Linked DNA regions of Homo sapiens: all the other regions are linked to region 2. The links are contacts of gene promoters, found by promoter capture Hi-C in blood cells and fetal thymus (Javierre and others, 2016). All regions are on one chromosome and are shown on one strand. The core of a region is centred on a gene start or on the middle of the fragment in contact, and the rest is flanking DNA. Distances in the headings are between cores, read along the strand shown. Region 1 overlaps DENND4C (DENN domain containing 4C). Region 2 holds the start of RRAGA (Ras related GTP binding A). Region 3 overlaps DENND4C (DENN domain containing 4C). Region 4 has its middle 24 kb from the start of DENND4C.

Region 1 (2,700 bases), core at 134-2,633, 250 kb before region 2:
TTCATATTCTAACAACTTTTGCTTTCACACACAACTGTGATGACTTGGAAAAGTAATACTTAATGAGGATCCTCCTGGAAGCTTTCTCATATGGTTACTATTGTTTTCAGTCCTAACAGCACTTCTTCAACCAGATTAAGATCTTGGAGACATACCCCATTTGTTGTTTTAACAAGTATTTACTGAGGGCCTACTCTGTGCTAGGCAACTGTAACAAGTGCTGAAAATACAGGAGTAAACAAGAGATTAGGTCCTTACTCCCAGGAGACTTACATTCTTAAAATGGGGAAGGGAAGAGAAGAGAGTCAGCTATTTTAAATTAAACAACTAATGGGTGATAGGGTTGGAGAAGTGGACCATCTAAAGTTCTATACAATGGCCTATAAAGCCCTATACAATCAGACTTCATTCTTCAGTCTTTTTTTTTTTTTTGAGACGGAGTTTCACTCTAGTTGCCCAGGCTGGAGTGCAATGGTGTGATCTCAGCTCACCATAACCTCCGCCTCCTGGGTTCAAGCAATTCTCCTGCCTCAGCCTCCTGAGTAGCTGGGATTATAGGCATGTGCCACCACACCCGGCTAACTTTGTGTTTTTAGTAGAGCAGGGTTTCTCCATATTGGTCAGGCTGGTCTCGAACTCCTGACCTCAGGTGATCCGCCTACCTCAGCCTCCCAAATTGCTGGGATTACAGGTGTAAGCCACCATGCCTGTCAATCAGACTTCATTCTAAGTGCAATGGGAAGCCAAAGGGTTTTAAGCAGGGAACAACTTTAATTTCTTAACAATTTAACAATTTAATTTTATTTACGCTTTACACAAGAGCTAAGCCTCTGTATATTATCCTATTTCACAATCACTTAGAATTTCCTGTATATTACTGATTCACAATTATTAAAAGTTAAAATAGGGAGAAATTAACCATGTAATCATTTGCATAATTTTAGAACAGCTGAAATTGGCCAGAGCCTCTCAATACAACCAGCTTCATTCTCAGGTTTTATTATATAATCATATAGTTTTTACTCTGGGAAGAACTCAAAAATATGAAAAATTGGAAATTGACGTTTTTCCTAAAATAGAAATCACCTTTGTTTTCTTTATATTTCCTACTTCTCTTTGCCAGCAGATTATATTCAACTTTTACTGGGCTGGAAATTTTTCAAAGTTCCTTTTTTTAAATTTGTTGTTGTTTACAAAGTTGCTGTTTTTGAAGAAAATTTCCCTTTGGAGTAAAAATTATGTCAGTAATTTTGTACTAAAAGGAAAATTCTATACTTACAGCTACAACAGCTTCAGCTACCCCAGTCAAGACAGCTGGCCTAAGAGAATGCAGCAGAATTTTACTCTCAAGTAAAACAAAGAGCAGCAGTGTTGCACAATTCTCAGGACCCAGATTCATTAGCAAGGTGCTAAAGTTGGCTCCACTAGGGAAAAAAAAGAGAAAAGTAGATCATTGTGAACTATTTTGCTGAAATATGTTAAGATTTGCTTATTAAAGTATCAACAGATTGAGAGTCTAGTGTTAATTTCTAGTCTTTACTTATTTATCAATGAAAAGTAGCAAATTTAATAAGATAGATAACGGGGTGATTTAAACTCATCCTCTGGTAATAAAAGGCATTTATCAAGAAAGATTTTCCTGAACAGCCATTTGAGTTGAGCTCAGAAGAATGGAGACAAGGATGGGAGTGAAGGGGTGACAGACAATATATGCAAGGGCCCTGGGGCAAGAAAAAGCTGTTGTCATAGCCAAGAAATTGAAATAAATCTATTGTGACTAAAGCATAGTAAGGGAAAGGGTGAAAACAGCAACAGATTAGGCTGAAATTGAAATATACTATTATATTTGCGTTTTCAAAAGGACACACTGGCTACAGGGTGGATAAAGAACTAAAGGAAGATAAGTAAAAAGGTACCAATTAAGAGGCTAATAGTGAAATAGTCTGGTAAGACATCAAGGAAGCCTACTATGATGCAGATGAAAAGAAGTAAAAGGATTTGAGACATTTAAAAGGTTAAAATCAGCTCACCTTAAACCTTTAGTTATGAACTGGATATGGGAAGGGGAGATGAGAAGAAAAGGGAAGTATCCTCTACATCCAATCTTGCAACTCTCTTAATTGTTCCCATTTATAAAATAGCCCCACCATCCACCCAGTTACCAAAGTCAGAAACATTAAGGCTATTTTTGCCTAGTTTTAACTAATAAAGTTAATTGTAAAATAACAATCACTAATATATTAATAATATACTAATCACTAAAATATTTTAAAGCATTCTGCTCCAACTGAATAAATATATCATTTTAAATACCAGTAATTACCTTAGTGGTAAAGGTGTAGAAACTGGCTGTGATAATATTAATGCATCATGGACTGACAGCTTAAAAAAAAAAAAAAGATAAATTAACCAAAGATAAATTAACCAAACCAAGAGATAAGTTTCAAAACTACTTTTGAAATCTATATATTTAGATCAAAGGTAATATTGAAAACATTAATAATTTAATATGCAAACACACTTTTGGAAACAGGTACTAAAATATAAAATGATAGCTGTATTTACTCAGAAGTGTTACATTAGTTCTTTTTCATTAAATGGTTAATTTGACTGAATTTTGATTCACTTAATTGGTTAAAGTACAATTATTTAAAATTTATGGAACTACTGCTTCTGAAAAGCTTCAAATTCATTTACTCA
Region 2 (2,700 bases), core at 99-2,598:
GAGTAAATAGCGTCCAATGTTTAAAGACTGGGGAAGCGGGGAGAAAGATGAAAGGAGTAAGCAGCACACACTTCAAAGCCCACTTTTAAGCACACGACATTATGAATATTAAAAATAAAGGATGCAAACAAAAAAGGCAATTCAGCATTTTCAGAAAGAGCATTTGGCAATATTCAACGCATAAGGAGACTGTGCTTGGGGCCATCCACTCTCTCCAGCTTCTCAAAGTGTTTCCGGGCATTGCGAATGTTGATCAGAGTGGCCGCAGAAGGGATCGACGGATCTGACATGACCACCATCACGTACGTATTTGAGGTGAAGATGTCGATGAAAGCAGCGAAGTTGGAATTCCTAACTTCCATGCTCTGGAAGGAAGCGGCCAATTTACTGCAGCTCAGCTTGAACTGTTTGATGATGTTGCTGATCTTCTCAAACCGGTGGACGTCGCGCTGCTCTTTGCACTGGTAGTGGGAAATAACCAAGAATGTAGCTCTTTCGAACAGCAGAACTTCATCGGCCTCAATGATTTGGGCAAAATTCCTGAGGTTCATCTCCAGCTGCTGAACGTTGGGAATCAGCTGGTAGACGATGCTGGACCAGGCTTTGTAGAGCGTCTCATCCCAGATGGACGTTCGAAAACAAGCACACTCCAGCGGGCGAGACAGACGCCTCAGGTCTTCCTCTCGCTCTTTAAAAATCAGGTCACGCTGATCCTCCTGAACCAGATCCATTTTGTGCACCAGGCAGAAGATTTTGGCGTCAGGAGAGTTCTGGAGGATGGCCTCCAGACACGACTGGTAATAATGCATGTCCTTTTCCAGTTCGCGGCTCTCCACGTCAAACACGTAAATCAAAACTTCCACGTTACGGAAGATATTGTCTCGCTGGCTGGTGAAGTAATTTTCCATGAAGGTGTCCTGACCGCCACAGTCCCACAGGTTCAGCACCAGGTTCCCTAGGAATCGGACGTGGGAGTGTTCCACGTCAATGGTGGCCCCCAGGCGCCGGGTGTCGCGAGCAATGTAATTGGCGAAGATTATCGACCTCATGCTGGTCTTCCCCGACCCGCTCTTCCCCATCAGCAGCACCTTTTTCTTCATGGCTGTATTTGGCATCACCCGCCGGGGCACCGCGGACTGGGCCTGAGGGCGCGGCCTACACGCAGCGCCGAGGGAGGGGTCGGGGGCTGCCGGGGACTCGCAGGCCGCGCCTCGCTCCGCTCCGCCGCGCAGCTGGGCAGGCAGGAGAGTCGAGAGCGCGAACCCGGGGCTGGAGAGGCCGCGGACGGGCTGGCTCTTACTCAGATGGGAGCGCCCGCGGCTGTCAGTGGCAACGGCTCGGGAGATACGCTCGCTTTCCGGGAGGGAGCCGCTGCGTCCCCGCCACCACCCACTTCCGGCGGCGATCTCGCGAGAGCTCCCTCGCTCCGCCCTCCGTGCCCGACGAGCCTTGAAAAGCCGCTGCTCTAATGAAACCTAACCGGGGCGGCGTGAGCCCTAAGATGGAAGGGAAGCTCGAGGACTTCGGTCTTTTGTTCTGTTGCAGCTGGGTTTGCTGTTGCTAGGGGTACGTGTGTGGTTGGCCGGGGGAAATGCTGCCCTCTCGTGGCCAAAAAAAGCCCCAACCGCCACCACCACCGCAACTGGCTTTAGGAGCGAGGTGTGTCGGGCCGGTTTCCGCAGGGGCAGCCGACTGGTGAAGTGGAGGGAAAGCCTAACTTCCCAGTCCGCTTAGGCCTCCCCAGCTTGCCCGGCCCAGTGAGTACAAGGGCAGGGCAGATGGAGACTGTGCAGGCGCGGAAAGTGAGACTTGTAGGCAAGCGATTGCCTGTTGCTGCGCAGCTAGGTAATAGCAAGTCCCTCCTAGGAGACATCCTGGCTTCCAGTGGGTGCTTTTAATTCCTTTCTCACATCTGCTTTTCCGTAATCTCAGACTTTAGAATTTATAATTAGAATTCCAAAGCTCGAGGAAATGATAATGTGGAATCCCAGGCATTAGTTCCATCCTCACAGTAACCCTGTGAATTAATAACCCTATTTTCAAGTTAGGGAATCAAAGGTTAGAGAGGTTAAGTCACTTGACCAAGTTACACAGATACTAAATGATGAAATGGAATTTGGTTTTAGACAATCTTGCTGCGGTCTATTTGCCTAACAATAGGCTACCCTGTGCCCCTCTCAAAGCATAATATGATTCTGCTCTTGGTCTTCAAGTAGATGAGTGAATCAGTGTCGCCAGTATCGTTCATACAGAATGAATGAGAGTCATCAGGATACTGAAGCCTCTGTATCTACCTTAAAGTCCTTTTTTTTTCTTTTGAGACGGAGTCTCACTCTGTTGCCCAGGCTGGAGTGCAGTGGCGCGATCTCAGCTCACTGCAACCTACGCCTCCTGAGTTCAAGCGATTCTCCTGCCTCAGTCCCCCAAATAGCTGGGATTGTGGGCACCTGCCACCACGCCCGGCTAATTTTTGTATTTTTAGTGGAGACGGGGTTTCACTATGTTGGCCAGGCTGGTCTGGAACTCAAGCCAGCCACCTGCCTCGGCCTCCTAAAGTGTGGGATTACAGGCGTGAGCCACCGTGCCTGGCCTAAAGCCCTTATCAAAGTGTATACTGTACTGTACAAATTCAGGTATTCCATTCTTTCATTTATTCAAAAAATATTTTAATTCCTACTGTTAACGTGTGCAGTAAAAGAA
Region 3 (2,700 bases), core at 15-2,514, 230 kb before region 2:
CAGCCTCCCAAGTAGCAGGAACTACAGGTGCTCGCCACCATGCCCAACTAATTTTTGTATTTTTTTAGTAAAGAGGGGGTTTCACCATGTTGGACAGGCTGGTCTTGAACTCCTGACCACAAGTGATCGGCTTGCCTCCGCCTCCCAAAGTGCTGGGATTACAGGCGTGAACCACCACACCGGGCCCTTGCTCATTTTTATTTTTATTTTTTGTGAACTCCTGGCCTCAAGCAATCCTCCTCCCACCTCAGCCTCCCAAAGCGTTGGGATTAGGGAGGCTGGAGTGCAGTGGTGTGATCTTGGTTCACTGCAACCTCCGCCTCCCGGGTTCAAGTGATTCTCCTGCCTCAGCCTCCTGAGTAGCTGGGACTACAGGCGCACACTGCCACACCCAGCTAATTTTTGTATTTTTAGTAGAGATGGGGTTTCATCATGTTGGCCAGGATGGTCTTGATCCCTTGACCTTGTGATCCGCTTGCCTCGGCCTCCCAAAGTGCTGGGATTACAGGTTAGCTGGGATTACAGTGTAAGCCACCACACTGGACCAGAATACAGATTGTGATTCAGTAGGTCTGGAATAGTGCCTAAGTTTCTGAGTTTCTAACAAGCTTCCAGGTCTTTTGGACAATACTGGTCCATGGGCTACAATTTGAATAGTTAGGCCCTTAACTATCTTCCCCTTCCCTTAAAGTCAAGCTTCTGGGGGGGCAGAGTGGAGGGGGCCTTTATTAATCCAATTCCCAGTCATTTCTGAACCCTGTCTTTCTAACCTGGCTCATATGCTCAATGACCCTATAAAGCTGAAAGATCACCATCCTAACTATACTGACTTGAAGGAAAACTACAGTAGCTAAATAGGATGGACAATACTAAAGGAGTTAAACGAATGCTGCATAAAGGTCAAGTAAGATAAAGACAAATCATCCTTTGGTTTTAAAAATTTGAAAATGAGGACTTTTTAAACTTTTTTCTCTTTTTCAGCCTGAGTTGTTACACACTCCTTCGTGGATTCCGACTTCCATGGAGTATGAGGATCTTTATAACAATTTCGCCAGAGCTCTAATGCAACAAGAGTGGGTGATGAGCGTAACAAGTGGTGGTCAAATGGCTACCCCTTAATACCTGAACAACTATAAAGAGAACAATCAGTGGCCAGGTGTGGTAACTCACGCTTGTAACCCCAGCACTTTGGGAGGCAGATCCCCTAAGGTCAGGAGTTCAAGACCAGCTTTGCCAATATGGTGAAACCCTGTCTCTGCTACTAAAAATACAAAAATTAGCCAGGCATAGTGGTGCACGCCTGTAATCCTAGCTACTCAAGAGGCTGAGGCAGGAGAATCACTTGAACCCGGGAGGCGGAGGTTGCAGTGAGCCAAGATTGCGCCACTGCACTCCAGCCTGGGCAACGAAGCCAGACTCTGTCTCAAAAACAAACAAACAAAAAACAACCACAACAACAAAAAGAGAACAACCAGCAACCAAGTGTTCAAAAAAAAAAAAAAAAGAAAAAAAAGGCTTCATGAATTAGAAAAATTTGGATATGTGATAATATTAAGGAATTAATCATTTTTTAAGGTATGGTATCATAGTTATATTAAAAGAAAGATTCAACAAAAGAAAATCAATGTAATACATGACACTAAGAGAACAAAGGAAGAAAAAATACATGATCATCTCAATTGACAAAAGGCATCTGACAAAATTTAACACACTTTCCTGATAAAATCTCTCAGAAAACTAGGAATAGAAGAACATTTCCTCAACATGATAAATGGTATTTAAGGAATATTTACAGTTAACATCATACTCAATAGTAAAAGACTGAAAGCTTTCCACCTAAAATCAGGAATGAGACAAGATGCCTGCTTTCACCACTGCTATTCAACATACTAAAAGTTCTAGCCAGAGTAATTACACACACACACACACACACAAAGCATCCAAACTGCAAAGGAAGGAGTAAAACTATTTCTATTTGCAGATGACATGATCCTATATATTTAAAAAAATCCCGAAGAACCCACAAGTTATTAGAACTAATAAATTCGGCAAAGTTGCAGAGTGCAAGATTAGCACACAAAAATCAGCTATTTCTATACACCAGCAACAAACAATCCAAAAATTAAGAAAACAACACTATTTATAATAGAATCCAAAAGAATAAAATACCTAGAAATAAAATTAATCAGATTTAAAAAATACACAATGTTGCTGAAAGAAATTAAAGAAGACCTAAACCAATGGAAAACATTCCACGTTCACAAGCTGAATCGTTTAATATTGTAAAGATGACAATACTCTGCAGATTAATCTAAAGTTAATGTAATCTCTATCAAAATTCCTACTACACATTTTGTATAAATAGATAAGCTGATCCTAAAATACTTGCCAGGATGTTCCCAAATATCTATATTTTAGTAATGGTAATGATAATAAACAAAACACCCCAATACATCACATGTATATATGGTAAAGTGTTATAGGTATTCTAAAAGCACATCCTTTTTACAGAAGAGTCAAGGTAGCCATTTGGGGAAAGGGTGGACCTTTGTAGGCATTTACAAAAAAGAATGTCCTTCACTGGTAGACTAGATACTAGATACTTCATGAAAACTGTAGCACTTATCTGTAAACACCCTCCTCCCAGCATTGAAAGCCACACGTTACAACTGTATTTAAAATAGGACTGCTCTTTAGTTA
Region 4 (2,700 bases), core at 114-2,613, 160 kb before region 2:
GGGCCCAGAGCTGTTTGAGTTACTTAATATCTGACTATTTGGGAATATCAATATAATGCTGTCTTTCTGGAAATGCAAATACTTTGCTACAATTTGAGAAGATTTTTACCCCAGATAGATTTCCCGCCAGCTTGCAACAGTGCCTGAAATTCCACAAGAAATATTCATATCTTTTTGTCTTGAAAGGAACTCAAGCTAGCTATTAAAATGTATTCGTGTGTGTGTGTGTGTGTGTGTGTGTGTGTGTGTGTGTGTGTGTGTGTTTTAAAAGGTTAACAATAATTTTCTGGAGAGAATGGATATAATGGTTATTTTTATATTCTTCATACTTTAACCTATTTTAAAATTTTTCTACAGGAAAGATATACACTTCTATTATCAGAAAAAAAATGCTATAGCAATTTTTATGAGGCCAGGTGTGGTGGCTCACACCTGTAATCCCAACACTTTAGGAGGCTGATTGCTTAAGGCCAGGAGTTTGATACAAGCCTGGGCAACATAGCACGACTCTGCCTCTACAAAATAAAACTAAAAAAAAATTATACACTCAAAGATGAGAAAAATCTAAAGCCATTATCAGATAGCAGCTTATTGAATGTATATTTCTCAAACCTTTTATGTTAATGCTAGGCAGCTAGAACCCAGACCTTTTCAGAAATTCGCATAAGATCCCAAAAGGAAGTAAATCCTCATATTGATAATGTTCTTGTTCTTAAGCAGAGTGTTTATTCTATTATATTTAACAACACATTCTTTTGTATGTATCAAATATTACACTCAAATTTTTCTTTTTTTTAATCCTGAAAGGGCCAAAGATAAACTTCCTGTTTCCCCAGTATTTGCCCAAGCCTCCCATGGCAGGACTCACATACAGGGCCTTTTTTACAGCTAATGCTGCTATAAGTAGCATTTCTAAAAGCATTTCAGAAACTATGCCGGGCACAGTGGCTCACACTTGTAATCCCAGCTCTTTGCAGGCTGAGGCAAGAGTGTGGCTTGAGCTCAGGAGTTTGAGGCCACAGTGAGCTATGATCATGCCACTGCACTCCAGCTTAGGTGACAGAGCAAGACCCTTTCTGTAAAAATAAAAAGTATTTGAGAAACTGGAACAGATAAGACAGACCAATATTACGCTCAAGTTTTCCTCATATTATGGTAAAGTTGAAATTATTGAACTAGGCTGGGCATAGTGGCTAACACCTGTAACCCTAAGAACTTTGCAAGACTAAGGCAGGAGGATTGCTTGAGCCCAGGAGTTCAAGGCCAGCCTGGGCAGCATAGTGATAATCTGTCCCTAAAAAAAAATAATAATAACCATACCTGGCCAACATCGTGAAACCATGTCTCTACTAAAATACAAAAATTAGCTGGGTTTTTTGGTGCATGCCTGTAATCCCAACTACTTGGGAGGTTAAGGCAGAAGAATCACTTGAACCCGGGAGGCAGAGGTTGGAGTGAGCTGAGATTGCCCCACTGCACTCCAGCCTGGGTGACAGAGTGAAACTTCTTTTCTGAAACTGTCTCAAAAAAATAAAAATTAAAAGGCCAGGCGCGGTGGCCTACGCCTGTAATCCCAGCATTTTGGGAGGCCAAGGCGGGCAGATCACAAGGTCAGGAGATCGAGACCATCCTGGCTAATATGGTGAAACCACATCTCTACTAAAAATATAAAAAATTAGCCAGGTGTGGTGGCAGGCGCCTGTAGTCCCAGCTACTCGGGAGGCTGAGGCAGGAGAATGGCGTGAACCCAGGAGGCGGAGGTTGCAGTGAGCCGAGATCGAGCCACTGCACTCCAGCCTGGGCGACAGAGCGAGACTCCATCTCAAAATAAATAAAATTAAATTAAAATTAAAAAATAAATATTAAAATTCAATGTAAAACAATTAAGTTATGATGATAAACATCATACGATATCAACTCACACAAGATTCATGGTCCTTTTCAATGTCAGGTAAATTCATCCTTGATTTCATGAAAATCCAGGGATTAAAGCAGAGTAGTTTCATCTAAGTGCAGCTAATGTCTATTCCATTTTCAGGTATGTCCGTGGAGAACATACCTGAAAATGATATGTTCATGGAGAATCAACTTGCCTTTCATTCACTTCAACTTGTCTTTCATTCAAATATTCAGATATTTCATTTCAGATATTTCCTGAGCCATATGTTAGGTGCATGCCAAATTCATGCTGGGGATATTGTGTTGAACAAACCAGGCATGGTTCCTGCCCTCACGGAGTTTACAGCCTAGTGTGGTCCTAGCATACCGCCATGCCAATAATGTGCAGTTGTTTTTCTTTTTTTCCAGAAGGATCTCACTCTGTTGCCTACGCTAGAGTGCAGTGGTGCAATCATAGCTCACTGCAGCCTCCAACTGCTCGCTCAAGCAATCCTCTTACCTCAGCCTCCCAAGTAGCTGGGACTACAGGCATGTGCCACCATAATCAGCTGATTTTTTAAAAATTTTTTTGTAGAAACAGGACCTCACTTTGTTTTCTGGGATGGTCTTTTATTATTATTATTATTATTATTGTTTTTTTTTTTTTTTTTGAGATGGAGTCTTGCTCTGTTGCCAGGCTGGAGTGCAATGGCGTGATCTCGGCTCACTGCAGTCTCCACCTCCTGGGTTCAAGCGATTCCCCTGCCTCAGCCTCCCAAGTAGCTGGGATTAAAGGTGCATGCCACCATGCCCGGCTAATTT

What was found. The method cuts DNA at HindIII sites, captures the fragments that hold promoters and counts their contacts. A CHiCAGO score of 5 or more calls a contact.
Region 1: a contact is called between a fragment that was not itself captured here and the fragment with the promoter of RRAGA in region 2, in 5 of 17 cell types (naive CD8 T cells, total CD8 T cells, erythroblasts and 2 more). The highest score is 8.9, in naive CD8 T cells.
Region 3: a fragment that was not itself captured here is called in contact with the fragment with the promoter of RRAGA in region 2 in 1 of 17 cell types (M0 macrophages); the score reaches 5.8 in M0 macrophages.
Region 4: a fragment that was not itself captured here is called in contact with the fragment with the promoter of RRAGA in region 2 in 1 of 17 cell types (monocytes); the score reaches 6.0 in monocytes.

Annotation. Positions count from the first base shown.
Region 1 is chr9:19,298,911-19,301,610 of GRCh38, reverse strand. It overlaps DENND4C (DENN domain containing 4C), which reads right to left. Exons shown (of 33, transcript NM_001330640.2): 8 at 2,324-2,382; 9 at 1,280-1,424. Among named protein-coding and RNA genes, the nearest start is that of DENND4C, 70 kb to the right of the region's middle. The HindIII fragment of the contact is 2,600 bases long and covers 84-2,683 here.
Region 2 is chr9:19,048,075-19,050,774 of GRCh38, reverse strand. RRAGA (Ras related GTP binding A) reads right to left here and starts at 1,348. Exons shown (of 1, transcript NM_006570.5): 1 at 1-1,348. The coding sequence starts at 1,115. The coding sequence ends at 174. It also overlaps a transcript of SAXO1 not described here. RefSeq lists a silencer at 1,090-1,279 and an enhancer at 887-1,408. The HindIII fragment of the contact is 15,757 bases long and covers 1-2,700 here.
Region 3 is chr9:19,276,879-19,279,578 of GRCh38, reverse strand. The region is part of intron 2 of DENND4C (DENN domain containing 4C); the gene reads right to left. Among named protein-coding and RNA genes, the nearest start is that of DENND4C, 48 kb to the right of the region's middle. The HindIII fragment of the contact is 1,132 bases long and covers 699-1,830 here.
Region 4 is chr9:19,205,446-19,208,145 of GRCh38, reverse strand. No RefSeq gene overlaps it. Among named protein-coding and RNA genes, the nearest start is that of DENND4C, 24 kb to the left of the region's middle. The HindIII fragment of the contact is 5,053 bases long and covers 1-2,700 here.